2 separate regions of the Homo sapiens genome follow, and region 1 is linked to region 2. Evidence: promoter capture Hi-C in 16 types of primary human blood cells and fetal thymus (Javierre and others, 2016). All regions are on one chromosome and are shown on one strand. Each heading gives the region's core, a stretch centred on a gene start or on the middle of the fragment in contact. The rest is flanking DNA. Distances are from core to core; before and after follow the strand shown.

What was found. The method cuts DNA at HindIII sites, captures the fragments that hold promoters and counts their contacts. A CHiCAGO score of 5 or more calls a contact.
Region 1: a contact is called between a fragment that was not itself captured here and the fragment with the promoter of KIF21A in region 2, in 1 of 17 cell types (non-activated CD4 T cells). The highest score is 5.1, in non-activated CD4 T cells.

Annotation. Positions count from the first base shown.
Region 1 is chr12:39,642,514-39,647,448 of GRCh38, forward strand. It overlaps REDIC1 (regulator of DNA class I crossover intermediates 1), which reads left to right. Exons shown (of 13, transcript NM_001031748.4): 3 at 1,266-1,404; 4 at 3,816-3,948; 5 at 4,327-4,375. Among named protein-coding and RNA genes, the nearest start is that of REDIC1, 19 kb to the left of the region's middle. The HindIII fragment of the contact is 879 bases long and covers 1,932-2,810 here.
Region 2 is chr12:39,439,764-39,445,355 of GRCh38, forward strand. It overlaps KIF21A (kinesin family member 21A), which reads right to left and starts at 3,357. Exons shown (of 38, transcript NM_001173464.2): 1 at 3,164-3,357. The coding sequence starts at 3,207. RefSeq lists enhancers at 2,298-2,367, 3,186-3,686, 3,968-4,027 and a silencer at 2,988-3,887. The HindIII fragment of the contact is 8,179 bases long and covers 1-3,869 here.

The DNA.
Region 1 (4,935 bases), core at 1,121-3,620, 200 kb after region 2:
TTATTTGTGTCATCATCTCCCTCACTATGGTCTTATCCATCACAAAGTACAGTGCCTTTGTACTTTGTACAGATGAACTAACAACTTCTTAATTCCAGGACACAATCAATTATAAGATCTAGCATTGACTGAGTTGTTGTTTCAAGGTGGAAAACTATTTACATCCTGAAGATCCTGTTATTTCATTGCTTAACCATAGTATGGTCTTTAAAAATACATTTTAGTCTAATTTGGAGTTCCAGATCACTCAAATGAAATATGAACAAATACCTTTTATCTGTTATTTATTTTGTAAAACAAGACATTTACTTTTTTGTGTGTGATCATTGGCAAGTCTGTTATAGTTCTTACAAGATTTTTACAAACTTAAAAGTTATAATTAACAATATTCTGAAATGTTAATGTGAAAGAGCCTCAACTTCTTGAAAATAAATATGATATGTAACCTCTTCAAATTATGACCTCTTGCACTAAATATTTTGCCATCTTGGCTTTTTCTCATTTCTGACAATTTCGCATTTATATTTACATTCATAGCATTATATTATGAGTTATTTAATGGAAGAGAAGATGTTTTCACAACCTAGCACATAATAGTTGCTTGATAAATAAATATTAGTTAATTTTTATTTAAATGAATTAATGATGTAACCTGAAAGAAAAAGAATGGCAATAAGAAAGAATAATAACAGTTCAAACAGAAAGAAAATAAAAACTGGATAAAGTGATAATTATGTGCAAGTCTTGTTAAAAAAACAAACATCTGGGAATCATGGAGGGATAACAAATAAACGAAATTGGCTTTGGTTGCAGATTAATTTGCACATAGCTTTTTTTTTCTTCATTTCTGTTGACTTTTAATGGCACTCAGCTGTGCATATTTTTAAGGTTTTCTATGTCTGCAGAATAGCATACTTTGTAGAAAAACAAGAACAAGATTTTAGCCTGTCAGAATTGTTCTGTTACCAGATTTTTTTAACTTTCTATATAGAGATAATTTCTAATCTTTTGATTTCAGAGAATAGCTTTATAGCATTCTGTTTTAAAGGTTATGCTTAAGGAAGATGATAAAAGGCTGTGAAATTTAGTCTTTAGGCAAACTGCAAGTTATGATTAATTGTAATGTATTTATAAACATATAAAGATGTCACAAAATATAAAAGTATCAAGTCAATGACTTAATAACATGATTGCTTTTTTATTATTTATAATTCTGTCTAAAACCGCATATTTGCTGCATTGTTTTTAATTTTTAATTATTTTAGGAATATTTTGAAAAACACAGGTTAAAATCAAAAATGAAATCACTGGGAGTTTTATCTCCTGTCAAAAATTCTGCTGTCAGCTTAGACATTCTTAACCTATATATGGTAAATCAGATATCTTGCAAGAAGAAAATTCCTGGTAAGTCATTCCAATTGCATTCTGTTTTGAACTTGATGTGATCATAATAATGTTTAGTCTTCTAATTAGTTTGTAATTTTTGAGCTCAAAGCATGTGGAAAATTAATTTTAAAATTTGGTTGCTCTCTTAAATTAGATGCCTAGTTAATATCTGCTTAAAACGTTTTGTTGCTTAATCCAATTTTTATTTTTATTTTGTGTATGTGTTATATAAAATTAATTTATTAGGTGTCACTAAACTTATTATAGTACAGTTGTTACATTATTCTATACAGGCAGGTAGTTACCAAAGTTTAGCTAGAGAGCAGGGAATAAATGTTAATACATATCAACAAATTAACTATTCTTTACTATTTAAAGGGTATGTCTGAAAGGAAGATCTGCAAAGATTTTTGCTTCAATGACTAGTTTCCTATGTCATCACTTGAATTATTTATTACACTTTCCTGGGATGTTAATCATAGAAGTCTAATACTGCAAAATAAAGTCCATTTTGTCATATATTTTGATACTTCAAGTAAATAAAAAGCTTAATTAGAGTATATTTTTCCTCTTTTAGAGGAACTTGTGTCTGATATTTAATTTTTAAAACAACTGCTAAAAATGAGAGCATAAAAATAAGACAATTTATCAGGAAGGGATAGAAATTGATCAGAGTATTGTTAATATTTCCTCATTTCCTTTCTCCGTCATTTTTTTTCTCCCTCCACAGATAACAGTTTACACAAGTAAATTTAGTTATACTTTAGAAAGAATAAATACATTGTTCATGGATTTTGAGAATAAAACTTATTGTTGTAAATCTTTTTGATGTATTTACCTTTATTCCCAGTCGTAGGGGAATAAAAATATATTTCCTCATCCATTGCTAGGTTTATGGCTAAACCCTCAATAACAAAAGACAGATTAACAGGAGAAAAACATACAGATTTATTTAGTAAGTTTTATGTGACACAAGAGCCTTGATAAGAAATTTAAGATCTTAAGATTGGAAGAAATGGCTAAACTTGTGTATTTTTCTTGCCAGGTTTGATGAAAAAGTGGATGGTCCTCAAGAAGTATGATTGGATTTTTAAAAGAATGATCTAATAGTAATAAACTAAGGGGATCTTAGCAAGGCCTCTTTGTTCAGATTCTTCTTTGTGACCCTGCGTCTTCAGAGATAGGGATATTATTTTCTTCCAAGTATAACCAGAGCACTTCTCGAATGAGGGTTTTATGACCTGCTTCAGGGGAAAGCTGAGAGTAACCTTCCTGCTTCTGCTGTTTTCTTAAATAGCAAGATGACTTATTTTGGGATAATGGCCTGAACTCCTGCACTTTCTTTTCATTTATTTCTTCAGCATATTTTTATTGGGTACCCACTGTAAGTACTCTACTGGGTGCTGAGGATAAAACAGAAAGCAAGCTTTACTAATCAGGACTCATGGCTGCAAATGACAGAAATTCAAAACAGTTATCTTTTTACTCCTTTAACAGGAAGAGTGATGGTGCAGTGGGCCTCAGAGATGACTTGAAACAGGGACTTGAATACTATCAAGATTCTTTTTCACTTCAGTCATTAACTTTATTCTCTCAGACTGTCTTCATCATTGAGGCTCAAAACATGGCCTTAAGAAACTAATATTACTCACCTTCTCTAGTTTTGCCACCAAGGAAATACTGAGAGTTGTTTCTCTGGTCCCACATTTTAAAATTCCACTGTAAGAATATTTCCTTGTGCTACTGGTACCAATCTCACAGTGAAAAAATTTTGCTTATAACTAGCAGAATGGGATACGATTATTGGTTCACCTTTAGTCAGATGGCTACTGCCAAATCAATTATTTTATCCAGAGAGACAAGACTTTTATTTTGTTTTGTTTTTAAAGACAGGGTTTCACTGTGTTGCCCAAGCTGGTCTTGAACTCTTGGCCTCAAGCCATCCTCCAACTGCAGCCTCCTTAGTAACTGGGATTACAGGCATGAGCCACTATGCCTGGCTTGAGGCAGAGTTTTATAAGAAGATATAAAATCTACACTATAACTATGTATATAGTTTGGGTGGGTGTATCACAAAAATAGAGTAGGTGAAAGTACTGACCAGAGAAAGGGAAAATATATATAGTACTGTGGGAATATATAACATAGTAACTAATCTAGTCTGGAGATCATAGAAATCTTGGTGGAAGAAAAAGTAGAACTAAATTAATAGGGCAGCTATAATGAGGAATATATAAGATGATGAATATGTTTTAAAGTCTCTGATAGTTGTTTATATTGTAATGATTTATTTTAGCACTGATAGAATGTAAATGTTTTAGTAAAATTTCTTAGATATATGTTTATGTAATGAACATGATTTATTAAACAGTACTTTTACAATTTTTTATTCTTATTTTAAAATTATAATTATATATTTTTTATTATAGAAACTGTGAGAAAACCAACCCATGTGAACATGAATAGAGACATAAAAATGCCCCTAAGAAAGCATAATTTAGAACTTACAATGTCGCCTCACTGTGTACCTTCTAAACTCTGCCTTGATGATACAGAAACCAAGTAGGTTTTAGCTAGGATTTATATTATTAGGTGTTTAAACTGGTTATTAACAACACTTTTACTCACTCGAAAATGTATAAAATACTTACCTTCTACCCCCAGTTTTTGTTTGTTTGGCTGTTAACAGTATTATGCAATGATTAAGACCTTCATCAAATGATCCAGATTTTGTACACTTTGTTTGACTTACCTTATCATAAAAATGTCTGTATCTAGTATTAATATAATTTTTATAAAACTTAGTAATATTATGACCCTGTAGTGATTTACTTAGGTTTCTATATGTTTTGTGTAGAACAGTATGAATTTTAAATATAGGAAAGGACAGTCGATTTTATTTCAATTTATATTTTTAACCTAAATTTTTCTTTTCATTAGTGTAAACTGTCAAAGACTAAGTAGCAAGGAAGATCTTGGCCCAGTCCAGGTGAGATTTTTAAAAAAATTCTATAGGTTATTTCAGCAATTGTGATATGCTACCTAATGATCTAAATGTCTGAATACTGGAGAAAATTATTTTAAAGAAAATTTTGAGTCTTTAATTCTTTTAAAAGCTTTCCAGGTGAGAAATCTATGCCTTAAGAATATTTTAATTGATTGCTTATGAGAATCTCTTTGGACTGCTGGTAATGTGACTAGGCCTATGTTTGCATAACATTTGATTCTGCTTGTTACTGATGAGCTGCCAAGGACAGTTCACTTAGGGATTCTTACTTTGGGTTCACGTGATTATTGAGCAATTCATCTGTTCAAACATAGTAACCAGATTACTTTATATCAAATTGTGATGTCCAACCCTCACGTGGATCCCAAGATGATTTCTCTTTCAAAGTATAGCAAATAATTTTCTTAGCAAATAAAATTTTAATCAATTAGAAAATGCATAGATTATAATTAAAGCTTGAAACTTTAACATCTAATGTCATATTGTTAGCTATCATTTTTTTCCTTTGAATTGCCAGAGTTAAGCTAGATCAGAAAGATAAT
Region 2 (5,592 bases), core at 2,107-4,606:
ATATACTGTAAAAAGGTATTTTTGGAAATTGAATAAAAATTGTTCTCCCTAAATGAGAATCTTTCTGTTTAACATCTTTCTCCCAAAGCCTTAAATGACCCATTTCCTTATCTTGAGAAATCTACAATAGAGTCATCAGCTTTAACATACTAATAAACCTCTAATAAAACATAAGCACCTCTAGGATGCATTTCCACAATTATATTATTCATTAAAGGAAAAAAAGCAGGTCAAATGCTTTTGATTTTGTATATAGACACACGATTTTGTATTGATTTATTTATTCTGCTGAGGAACCCTTCTCAAACTGAAGGGTAGGGTAACAGGAAGCTGGAAAGATTAAATAATTTGAGGAAATATTTTAGTAAGTTCAGGTCCTGTCTTAGTTCTATCTTTTCTAGCAATATCAAAATATGAATAACCTGTGAAAGCCACTCATTTGTAAATGAACTAATACAAAATCAAGAACAGGCAACTGACCCAAAGCTAAGTGAAACTTTGCAAAGCCATGTTCTTGCCTCTCACTTCCGCAGGGTTAATGGTTAAGAACTTGGGCTACTGAGTCAAGCTATCTGGGTTGGAACCCTGGCTCTCTCATTTGTTACCAATTTAACTTTGGATGGTTTACTTAATCTTTCTGTGCCTCATCTGTAAATGGCCATAATAACAGGACCTAAGTCACAGATTGTTATGAGGAATAAATAAGACTTTACATGAGATAAAACATCTTAACACAGCACTAATCCCGGCACACAGTATAAGTCAAACAATTATCACTACTTTTAGCCCAGAAATCAGGATAACAGAGACGGGTATATATCTTCAATAAATAATGGTTATAAATGAACAATATAAGTCCAAACACTTTATAAATACTAAAGTGCTATATGAGTATAAGCTATTTTTATCCTATATAAAGTAAGTTTACAAGGTAGCTCTGTTCAGAGAACAATGTATTTAATGAAAGAAATCCCCGATTTATCCAGGCGCAGTGGCTAATGCCTGTAATCCCAGCAATTTGGGAGGGACGGCTTGAGCCCAGGAGTACAAGACCACTCTGGGAAACATAGGGAGGCCCCATATCTACAAAAATGTATAAAAATTAGCCAAGCAGTGTGGCACATGCCTGTGATCTCAGCTACTCAGCAGGCTGAGATTAGAGGATTGCTTGAGCCCATGAGGTTGAGGCTGCAGTGAGCTATGATGGCACCACGACACTCTAGCCTGGGTGACACAGCAAAACCCTATCTCAAAAAAAAGAAAGAAGAAAGGAAAGAAGAGAGAAAGAGAAAGGAAAGAAGGAAGGAAGGAAGGAATCCTGAATTCAACAAATTGAATCTTTACAATATGGCTTACTAAGTTATGTTGAAGTTTTTATAAAGCCTTTCCCCAAAAATCAAACCCACATTCATTCACCTAAAAAGTCCTAACATACACACCAAAACAAAATACAAGTTATTTATCAGTCAGCATCACTTTAGGGTCATCCATGGCTCTACAGGCAAAGAAGCATCGGATTTAACAGAATGGTCAACAAACTGCCTTGTGATAGTCTAGAGAATTCACATATAAAAATCTCAAACGTCTAAAAACAGACAAATTGTCTGTTTTCAGTAATATTTTATGCACCTTCTTCACTTTCCTTGATCAGATCTCCTAACAAAATTGCCTCTTATTGGGTTTTCTGTCTTTTTCCTTCCCCTTTCTCCACCCTGGTGCAGTCATTAACTGGTATTAAAGGGCCAAAAGAGAGGTAGTAGCAGTGAATAGGAGAAACAGACTAATCTAACAATTGGATAAGTAGCCCTAGAATAACGAAGAAGGCCTAATTAAAACTTCAAAAGCCTTATAACAGGTGATTCTAACCAGTCATAAAACTGTCACCTCCCTGGGTGGTAAAAAAAAAAAAAAAAAAAACACTTAAAAACTCATTTTATTATTTAAGTTAATTAAAGATACAAAGTATACGAAACAGCCATTACTATGCCTGACCCAAGATGTGTCACTAAAATAGTAACTATAGAAATGTTTAGAGGGGAGAATTTTTAGAATAATTTTCTGGAAAGACTACAAGACTGGGAGATTGTTAATAGTTCCTAATTCCTTGGAGTGTAGATTATTTTTATAATCCTTAAAGCATAAATAAGGAGAAGTGAATTAACAGTAGACTCTCAGAGCTGTGAAAGCCACGCACTTACTCTAGGATGAATGCTTCATTAATTTTTCACACAGTGTGATGATGTTGCAATTTTCCATGAGCAACTATCAGAGCTTTCCTTCTTGATAAGTATCAAAACAGCCGAAATTACATCGAATACTCGTGCCTGTCATTGGCCGAAATATAATTTCAATACTAGGATGTACCTAGTATTTCCAGACTCACACCCTGGCCTGGGTAACGTTACGATTACATTGTATCCACCCTGCCTAATGTCAGTATGTTTCACACAGTCACCCATTTCACCCTTCCTCTGGCTAAAGAGTTTTCCTCCTTCTGTAGACCTCTCCCCAGTGGATTTTACCTTAAATTCCACTCCCATTCCAACACCCAAGAGGCTAGATCTGTCTCCTCTACCCACACGCGGGGGCATGTCTAGATCCCCGTGATGCTGAAAAAGATGTCTCATTTGCACAGACATCAGAACCCGAGTGGGCGCGCGGCGGGCCCTGCGGTCGCCGGCGCTGATAGTCAGATGCTTTGTCTCCTGCCTGGGAAGGCCGGAGCTGCATGGACACGTATGACAGACATTCTAGAACTAATAAAAAAGAACACCACAGCCCCGCGCACAGGCAGCTCCTCCCGGACAGGCGATAGCCCAAGGCGGCCAGACCTGAGGTGACTGATCCCGCGAGGGGACGGAGGGGAGTGACGAGGGCTTTTCCCCCAGAGAAGTCAAGACGCCCCCCAGGGACCCGGCGCCGCGCAGCCGCCAGCCACCTGCAAACACAGACGGCGTGAGGGCGGCGCAGTCGCCCTGCCAGCACCCGGCCGCGCGTGCCAGGCCAGCGGGGACTCACTGCCTCAGTTTCCTCAGCCGCAGAACCCGGCCGGGACGCCCCTCAGGTCGCTCCACCCCGGTAGCCGGTGCTCCGCGCCACAGCCAGGTCCTTGCCGCGCCCTCAACCCGCCGCCCGCCGCCCGCCGCCGGCAGACTGTCCTCACCTGACAGCCACCCGCACGGAGCTCTCGTCCGGGGCGCCCAACATGCTGGCGGCGGGCAGCGATCGAGCCGTTGGGCCTCGGCACCGCAGAGCTGAGGCGCCACTGGGGCCGCGGGACTCGGGCGCAGTAGGCTGGGGCGTCTGCGGGCGGGCGGCCGGCTCACCTCCGCCGCGCTCCAGCCATGTTGGGCGACTGAATGGAAAGGTGGCGGCGGCGCTGAGGCAGCAAGAGGAGGAGGTGATTCACGGCTCGCGGGCGCCCGCCCCTTCTCCACCGCTCACCCCCCAGGATCTGGGGCGGGGACAAAGCGCGCTTGAACGGCGAGCGCGCCTGTGGAGAAGCCAACAGGCCGCCAGCGGCCTCAGGGCGGCCGGGTGAGTGCGCCCTGCCCCCTCCGGTGGGGACGCGGCCTCCCAGCGGCCAGGCTGGGGACTCCACGCCCGCCAGGGCGCTCCGGGCTCCTCGCCCCGCACTGCGTCAGCCGCCGCCGCGCGGCTCAGCCCCACCTCGCCCTCCCCCAGCCTGCGCCCCGCCCTGCCCTCGTCGGGACACTGCCTGGCGCTGCTGGGCAGGGAGGCGAGGGGGAGGGATGCCTGCCGCCGGCTGCCCTCGCCCGAGGGCGACCAGCCTGTGCGCCCTTCCAGGCTCTTCTGGGAGAAGGAAGCAGCTAGTGCACGCGCTGCTGCCAGGTCCCTTCTCAAATCGAAGCTTGATTCAGCGGCGCGCCGGGAGCCAGGCAGCTGCTGCTGCGGTTCGGCTTTGTGTCCCACGCATAGCCTTATTGTCCTCTCTGCAGCTTGGACTTTGACCCCCTTCCCTAGCCCCCAGCTGAACGCCCTCCCTCCTCCCTCCCCGGAGTCAGTCATTCATGCTAAACGGACTCCCAGGTTTGTCCACTGTCTCTGGACAGCTGGGCTGTTCTACAGTTCATCGCCCGTTTACCAGCTCGGGTGGGATATGGAAATGATTTATTCGAGACTCCTGAATGCTTTTCTGTTCAATCATTTGTACACTGGTAAATGAACTGCACCCTGGTACTGCCAAGTGTTCCCAGAACTGAATATATCCACCAAGACCTGCTGTGTAGTAAATCCTTCCAAACTGATTTTCTTTCCCTTCTGGCCTTTAAAAAGCACCTCCCAATCCCAGGATTCTCTCAACATTGACCCATTGTGGTTTCTGTTTGTCACTATTGTGCTTCCACATGCCTTCAGATAGCTCTGTGGAAACAGCCTTTATTAGCTTTGCCACAGAGTATCTTTTGTGGACTGCTCCATACATCTCTATAAACAAACATGTGGCTTCATACGAAATAGTATCACAAATTAAATGGCACTATCCAAATAAAGGCACTACCTCAAATGCCTGCAATCTACAATCACATACCTAATCATCTTGTTCAGCAGTGATACAGCAGTGTGGCTCAGAGAAGGCTGCAACACTATGGGAAAAACAAGAAGTGTTTGATGATTTAAACCCATGGGAAGGCCGATGGGGTATATAATTATAGATAGTTTTAAATTTATTCTGTCCCTTAATCTCACTACCCCTAAATCTTAACAGACATGTAACTGGGAGGTAAAGAGGGCAGAGATGCTGAGTATCCTTCTATAGATCAAATTGGTGGGAAAGCTCTCCTCTGGCTACTCTTTGGAGGGCCTTTCCTAGCCTCAAAATTTATCCATCAACAAATCAGAGCTGCATTTCACCCTGCCCTGGCAAGCCCATATCTGGGTGGATCTGGGCTGGCCACCTTGCTTCTTTTGTTGATGAAAGCTGCAAGGAAAGCAAGAATGGCCCAGCACATTTAACAAGAAAACTAAAGAGAAATTTGTATAATTAAGACCCTCTTTTTAAAAAAAGTTCTTTTTTATTTTATTTTATTTTGAGACAAAGTCTTGCTCTGTCACCAGGCTGGAGTGCAGTGGCGTGATCTCGGCTCACTGTAACCTCTGCCTCCCGGGTTCAAGCGATTCTTCTGCCTCAGCCTCCTGAGTAGCTGGGACTACAGGCGTGTGCCACCATGCCCAGCTAATTTTTGTATTTTTAGTAGAGACAGAGTTTCACCGTATTGGCCAGGCTGGTCTTGAACTCCTGACCTTGTGATCCACCCGCCTCGGCCTCCCAAAGTGCTGGGATTACAGGCATGAGCCACCACACCCAGCCTATTTTATTTTTTGAGACAGTGTCTCGCTCTGTCATCCAGGCTGGAATGCAATGGTGTGATCTCAGCTCACTGCGACATCGACATCCTCCTCCGGGGTTCAAGGGATTCTCGTGCCTCAGCCTCCGGAGTAGCTGGGATTTCAGGCATGTGCCAACACATCCAGGTAATTTTTGTATTTTTAGTAGAGATGGGATTTCACCATGTTTACCAGGCTGGTCTCAAACTCCTGACCTCAAGTGATCCGCCCACCTCAGCCTCCCAA